Linked DNA regions of Homo sapiens: region 2 is linked to region 1. The links are contacts of gene promoters, found by promoter capture Hi-C in blood cells and fetal thymus (Javierre and others, 2016). All regions are on one chromosome and are shown on one strand. The core of a region is centred on a gene start or on the middle of the fragment in contact, and the rest is flanking DNA. Distances in the headings are between cores, read along the strand shown.

Region 1 (3,901 bases), core at 774-3,273:
CAGAGCCTTTTTGTCTTGGGCTCCCAAGTTTTTCTCCCCCCCCCCCAAAAAAAGAGGGGGTTTAAAAAAAAGAAAGAAAACAGTCTCTACATCTGGGGCGAGAGAGGTCTCAGGGGACGTCCTAACAAGTGTGTGAAGTGGCCAGGAGAACGCGGGATCCACGATTCCTCTCAGGGGAATGAATAACCCTAGGGACCGAGGGGCGGCGACGGCCGAGATGGCACCAGAACCACCAGAAGCCACGTCGGAAGGAGATGGGAGATCCAGAGGGCGAGAGAGGGCCCCTTTCCTCCCAAGCGATGTCTGTGGGCAGGTGTATAAATCTCTCAGAGCCTCCGTCTGGAGGGCTCCGGGTACCGGCTGCCCAGCCAAGGCTAAGTTGGTTTTTGGCTCCCTCCTTCGGAACAGAGAAAACGATAGATTACACAGGGATGGATGGACGGATGTCTGGAGAGATGGAAAGATGAATGGATGGATGGATGGGTGGATGGATGGATAGATGAATGGGTGGATGGATGGAGGGATGGATGGACGGACGGACGGACAGATATATGGATGGATGCATTATGGATGGATGCATGGACGGACGGACGGATGCACGGAGAGATGGATGGATGCATGGATGGATAGATAGACGGATGGACGGACGGATAGATAGATGGATGCCGGAAAGGAGAAGAATGAGAGACGGATGTGAGACTAGATGCACGCAGGCCAGAGCACCAGCATACGCTGGAACAGAGCACGAGCATACACTCGAACACACGCGCACACACTCAGGACATCTGCGCACAGACATACAATCCTCCGCGTCCGCTTCCACGCAGGCATTCGCGCACCTACATACACGCAGTTGCACGCGCGCGCACACACACAGGCACACACACGCAGACATGCACACACACGCAGACATGCACACACACCACACATGCAGACATGCACACACACGCAGACATGCACACACACACCACACATACACACACACACACACACAGTTCGCCTCTCCCTGGGTTTCTCAGAAACTAAATGATCACCGCCCCCCCGCCCCGCCCCACCTCCCGACACAGACACACAGGCACATACAATCCTCCCAGCACGTCCGAACGGATGCACAGAAAACTGAGCACCCAGACGGGTCCCGTCGACCCCGCACGTTAGCTCTAAACTGTGTGCAATTCTGGGGCGAAAAGCTAAAACTCGACTGCGTTCAACTTGCCGGCGGGTTCCCCAAGTCTGCGGGGCGAAGAGCTCGGGCCCCTCAGGCCCGCAATCGCACCCTCGGGGCGCTGGGCTTGGCGAGGAGAAAGGTGTCTGACTCCGGGTGCTAGAAATCAGGTCACTGGCGCCTGACGAGCGGCGCCACGACCGCTGCGCTGCGGAGCAGGCCCCGCAGCCCGGTCCCGAGAAGCGCAGGGCTCGGGAAACTTTGCAGAAACCAGAGCTCGAAAGGCTTTCGCTAGAATCCGGGAGCACCAAGCCTTCACTGTGCTCCAGGCTGCGTTTTCCCCTCGCCCCGGGCTGGCTCAGGAGAGGACGTGGTTCTTGTAATTTTTTTTTTAAATCCCGGCGTTGTCTCCCGTGCATCCCCTCAGGGCGCCTCGAGCGGGCCTCTCTGGCGGATGCTGATAAACTTTGGCCTTTGGTTACAAACTTGGACAGACCCGCCGCGTGCACGGGTCACCGCCTCGGGGCAGGCTGTCCGGCGGTTCCCCGCTGCCCCTTCGCCGATCCCCTCGCCTCAGCCCCCTTCTCCCGAATCGGGACGCACCATTCACACTGGGCTCCCCCCGCACCACCTGGCCCTGCGCTCCTGAGGACCCCTCACCCGCGATGGCCCCTCGCTGTCCCCGACCACAGAAAGGCCGTCCCGCTCTTACCTTCATTCGCGGGGTATACCCTGGAACCTGTGACAGCGTCGCAAATCCCGAAGAGACACGAAAATAGGGCGAAATAGAAAATCCCAGCCATGGTTCGCCGGTGCCAACGCTGCTCCTGCCGCTTCTATCCCAGTGGAATAAATGCTTAAGTTAGGAGAGCAGCGGGCTGAAGACATTGCCAAGGGGGCGGGCCCGGCCGGTGACGTGAGCCCGCCAGTCCGGGGCCCGCGGCCAATGGCGGCGCAGACAGGGCGGCCGAGCCCCGCCTTCACCGAGCAGGGCCCGCCCCAGGGTTCCGCCCCCTCCGGGCTCCACGGGGCGCGCGGTCTCCCGGGGCTCTAGGGGGCGAGCACGGCCGGTCCCCGCCCCCGCCTGCCGGAGGGAGCCAGCGGGATCCCCCACGTTACCTCGAAGGTCGAGCCCCTGGACGGCGGAGGGACTTTGGAAAAGCTCGGAATTGACCGAGGGGAGCCAGAGAAGAGGTTGGAAACCTTTTCTCCCACCACGGGCGGTTTAAGATGGAGGAAAACGCTCTTTTATTGAAATAAAAGAAGTCTAAGCTGACCTGCGGTTGCTTCTTTAGGAGAGTCGACGTGTCTGCGTCCAGCGCGCCCGGGCTGAGCTGCAGACTCGCGCCTGCCACCGCCACCCTCTGCCACCTTGCCCTGTTTTGTCTTTATGGCGCTTCCCCCTCTGAAATACTCTTTGCGGGGAGTTTTGTGGCTCTATCACTCGCTTCTTCCCTGGCTCCCCAGATGCCTGGAGAGCGGGGACCTACTTGGTCCCCAACGTCCAGTCCGCAGCAGGGCTCCGTCACTGTCTCCAGAGACTGAACGAATGACTTTCTAGCAGTAAGGAAGTCCCCGCTGGCCCCGTCCCCCTGCACACGCCGTGGACCTCGCCCAGGGCCCAGGACGCCCCGAGATGGCCTTGGGCAGGGAACCAGTTGTGGATTTCCCGGGGGCAGGGTTGGGGGCAGTCCCTGGAACCGGGCCTAGCCCGTCTGGGAGCGGTGGGGTAGAAGTGAAAGGCTTAAGTGTGGGTGCGGGGACTTGCAGCCGCACAGACAAGGCAGACCGGGACTGGGAAGCTGCCCGGAGCGGCTGCTGCGACTCTCCGCTCCGACCTAGCCGGGGCAGCCCTCCCTGCCCCGGGAGAAGACGGCGAGCAGGAGGACCCGCAGAGCCCCGCCCGGCTGCTCCGGCCCCGGGGGCACTGGCACCATCGGGCTGTGGTCTTTTCCCGATGCCCGAGCCGTGGACGCGGCCACCTAAGAGCGGTCCGGCGAAGGCAGCGCAGCCGGTGTCCCAGGGACCGGTCCCCAACGCCACTCGGTGCATTTCCCCAGGCGCTGGCAGGGGCACTGATTCCTAGCAATGAGGCCTCCCTTCCCCTTCCCAGGCCGCCCCTCCTCTGACTCCCTCCAGAGCAGGGCCGAGTTTTCCTGGGGAGCCTGGGTCCCGGCGGCCGGGCGGCCGCTGGGAGGTGGAGGAGCCTCTCCAGCCCCGGCCGCAGCTCATCGTGAGCCAACCGCGCCACCTGCCGGCCAGATGCGGGAGTGTGCGGCCCCGGAGGAAGGGCGAGCGGACAAAGACCGCAACCCGCAATCCGCAACCCCGCAGAGAGGTGGTGCGTGCGTTTGGGCGAGCTTTTCAGCCACCGCCAAGTCTCGTGCACTAGGGCTACTCCTACCGTGGGGCTGCGGACAGCGCTCAAGAGGTCCTGGAGTCTGTCGTGACTCTCGCCTGCTGGATTTCAAAAGATGGAATCGGAAAGCGTTTCAAGGAGAAACTCCTAACAAACCTTCCGGGGGTTGCCTGAGTGGCTGCTCTCGGAAAAGCGGATCCTAAATAAAGCGGGAGGGTTATAGGGCGACGTCGAGGAGAGGACAGGTCTCGAGTCACTGCTACAGTTTCAGGTCACTGGGCTCCGCAGCAGATCGTGTTTTCTCCCGTGGCTCGAGAGCTGCGCTGGTTTCTCATGCAAACTCAGAGCCGAGCTAATGACATGAGCAACTTTTACTT
Region 2 (3,492 bases), core at 229-2,728, 1.8 Mb before region 1:
ATAAGCACTTCTTTACATAGCATAGATGCTGAACAAATATATTTAAATTGAATCAAGCACCTTTTTGACCACTACCTCAGAGTTTGCTCGGTCATGTTGTTCCTATAAAATGTTGATTTTAGTTCTTTGATTTGAGCTATTTCTGCCCTAGGCCAGAATTCAACAATGCTGGATTTTCCCACTATGCAGATGGATTTTAAAAACACAATTCTTTAAGAAAAACAATGCTCCCGTAGCACCATCTACCTCTCAGTGGTAGCACTCATCACTATTGTAATTTTATATTTAAAATTGTGGATGGTTGATTGATGTCTGGCATGATATTATAAGCTCCAGAAGGACCAGAAGGAAATCTGACTTTATTAGAGTTGTCTCCCTAATGCCCGGCGCAGTGCATGGCATACAGCAGGTGCTTAATATTAATCAAATGAGAGAAATGACTTAGGCCTTTGTAGTGACTTACTTAACTGATGGTTGTCTATCGAATGCTAATATGAATGATTACACCTGTAAGGTCACCTTTTTCTAAGAAATACATATGGTTTCAGGAATATGTTTCTTCCATCTTTACTGTTTCTTGTCATTAATATTAGATACAATTACTTGAATTTTTAGGGTCTTATGTTAATTTTTTAAAAACTCGATGCATACTGGCATTTAAATAAATATGAACATTTAGAATTGATTAATTTCTTAATTCATTGTCTACTTTTTTAATAAAACAAAAGGAAGCAAAAACATTGCCTTCAAGGAAGAATACATCTCCTTGATATTCTGAGGAAAGAATGAATACGTTTATGATATTAGAGGAAAAAGCAAGGGAGTGAAGAGGTCATGGCAAGTGCTGGGAATGAGTCCTGTTTGACCTGTTTTCACTCCTATTCTTTTCTCCTCCCCACCCACCCCAGTTTAGGCCCAGGCAGGAACCCAACCAATAAACGTTAAATCTACTCTTTCCCCTTTCTCTGTCCTCTCTGCCCAATTTCCAAAAAGGTGTTGACGATGAAATAGTCTGTTGTGTCATCAGGCTGAGGGAAGTGGGAAGGAAGCGTGCACTAGCTTAAGCAAAGCATCTGACAAAGATACAATTCTTTTATTATGTAGGACATATAAACAGGTATTTAAAGAAACACTCTATTTAAGTTGATTTATTAAATTTTTTTGGTAAAGATAGAGCATGGGTTCCATTACAGTGGATACTGATGTCTTTTATAGTCATGACTCCCAAAGGACATACGGTTTCCCAAAAGTGTAATCCAGCTTCTATAACTCTGAATGATATTCCAAGTCTGCTTTCCTGTGTGTCCCCTCTTCACTCCCTCCCTTGATGAGCCTAATTACACACACAGAAGAATTACATGTGCACCAGCATCACACAATTAAAAAGCTAGATTTAAAAGGATCTTGCCCAGCTTTTCTATGGAAAACTTGAAATTAGGTATTTTGCTTTAAACTTGGCAAAGCTAAAGACCAAAGTGATGTCTAGAATCAGGGAAAGTCTGACTAATAACTGAATGCTGTTGGAGGGCCAGTGGCACAACACATGTTTTTTGCTCGTCAAAAGGCGATGAAAGACACGCAAAGGAGTGAAATCAAGCAATGTAATGAGAACGACAAAGAAGTGATTTTGTTCTGAGCATTGCTGAGTTTTAAAGCGATGTAATGTATTTCCCATTCTTCATAAAACATTCAATTGTAAAATGTAGAGATTGTTTGAAAGTGTTTTTAATATTTTAATTCCTAAAATGTGGATTTATCCAACGAATACTTGTAGACCTTAATGAGACATTTGGGGGCTGGACTTTCATTTATTCTAAGTAGTTCTCATATTTAAAAAGCAGTTGCAGATTCTTCATTTCATTAGTGAAATATCAAAAAAGAAAAAGGAAAATAAAGCAAATTATTCAGTTCCAAATGAAAGCATTTCTTCATTTTTTTCTAGAGAATGATTATTAAACACTATAAAACCTAGTCGAATCTCATTTCTACACATCATTAAAGAGTTCATGTGCCAAACAAACAATGACCTTTTGTTGATGAGATTGTAGAAATTATTAGTGGGGAAAAATGATCATTTGTTCCTGGAGGACATTGTTACATTTCTACCTCCTCCCACTTTATTCACTTTTTTCTTCACAGAGTTGGAGAAAATAATGAGATACAAACTCATTTCCCCAGCAGAGGTCACCCTTTCTCCTTTATCGTTCCCAATAAATGCCTTCTTAGTTGTGGTTCCTTAGTCCAAGGAAATGCAGGAGTTTTCAGCTTGAAGCACAGCCAGAGGGCTGGTGGAAACATATGCATCATTCACACCCTCTGTGTCTTCTTACGTATGCACTGTTTAAACGTATTACCCTACCTGGACTCTTAAATGGATAACTCACATACATATAATAAGAACCACTAGGTTATGTATTGATAATCCTATCTTTTAGTTAATCCACTTCATCAAGCATTAGTTTAATGCTTGCCAGTGCTGGCTCAAATTCTACCCAATTCTCTGCCCCATGGGCCAAAAAATAGGTTTTCATAACACCCTGGAAGTGACTGGCATAAGCCTTTAGAGAGAATCCCCTGGTGAATTTCTGCAGGGGAGAAAGACAAAAATGTATGGAACATTGGCCAAGTGGAGAGCTCAGGGCTGGGTACTGAAGGGTAAGCTAGGGAGGTATAAGCCCCAGTCTCAGCTTTTGCATTTGGTTTGGTTTTGGAAACAAAAATGTATGTTTGTATTTTATTTGAGACACACTGGATCACAGAATGAAGTTCTAAATGAATTATACGTGAGTGTGCAGAGTATAGGTCAGTCAAGAGGTGTCATCTACAGAAGGTCAGGGGTAGATGGGTGATGGAATTGCTCGGGTCCTGTTGCTATCTGCTGGGGAAAAGCATTCAGCACGTGTCTGGCCAAATCCAAACATGGATTTTGGAAACTCCTTTTCTCTTCCTCACTTTATGGAGGAAACCATTGGCATTTTCTTGGGGTCCCTGGGGAAGTGGGGCTCATTGGTTTTACAATGGTTAGTGAAGATCTTTTCTAAATAAAATTCCCTTCCTTCCCTTTGTTTTCTTTATTCTGTAAACTAAAGTTCTTGTGGACATGTTGGAAGTTTAAGACTGCGGTGGATTTGGGGTATTCTCTGTGGCTGCTGCTCTTCCCTTGGACTGCAGATGGCACAATCACAGTGTGCAGGGGATAAGGTAGTGCATCCCAAAGAACAGAAATGTGCTTCTCCCTTCCAGGAAGTGGGACAGCTGGATGACCATGACATTGGACCTCCAGTAGTGCTCGTGAAGCGATGCATCTTGGAAAGGAGGATCTGCCTGCGTTCCTGACATCACCCTTGGGATTTCTCCTCTGCTCTCCAGGCCTCTGGCTCTCCCTGCTGGTTCTGTGCTGGGTCACCTGCCACTGCTCAGCCTGCATGCCCTGCAGAAGTTGGCTGGAGCCAGCTGGTGGTGACTTGCCAGAGACTCTGGTTAAATAGGAAT

What was found. The method cuts DNA at HindIII sites, captures the fragments that hold promoters and counts their contacts. A CHiCAGO score of 5 or more calls a contact.
Region 2: a fragment that was not itself captured here is called in contact with the fragment with the promoter of EPHA4 in region 1 in 1 of 17 cell types (M2 macrophages); the score reaches 6.3 in M2 macrophages.

What each region holds. Positions count from the first base shown.
Region 1 is chr2:221,570,281-221,574,181 of GRCh38, forward strand. It overlaps EPHA4 (EPH receptor A4), which reads right to left and starts at 2,024. Exons shown (of 18, transcript NM_004438.5): 1 at 1,878-2,024. The coding sequence starts at 1,968. RefSeq lists silencers at 1,980-2,399, 3,000-3,279, 3,330-3,489. The HindIII fragment of the contact is 12,678 bases long and covers 1-3,901 here.
Region 2 is chr2:219,734,211-219,737,702 of GRCh38, forward strand. It overlaps LINC02832 (long intergenic non-protein coding RNA 2832), which reads left to right. Exons shown (of 2, transcript NR_185880.1): 2 at 3,244-3,492. Among named protein-coding and RNA genes, the nearest start is that of LINC02832, 6.0 kb to the left of the region's middle. The HindIII fragment of the contact is 4,545 bases long and covers 1-3,492 here.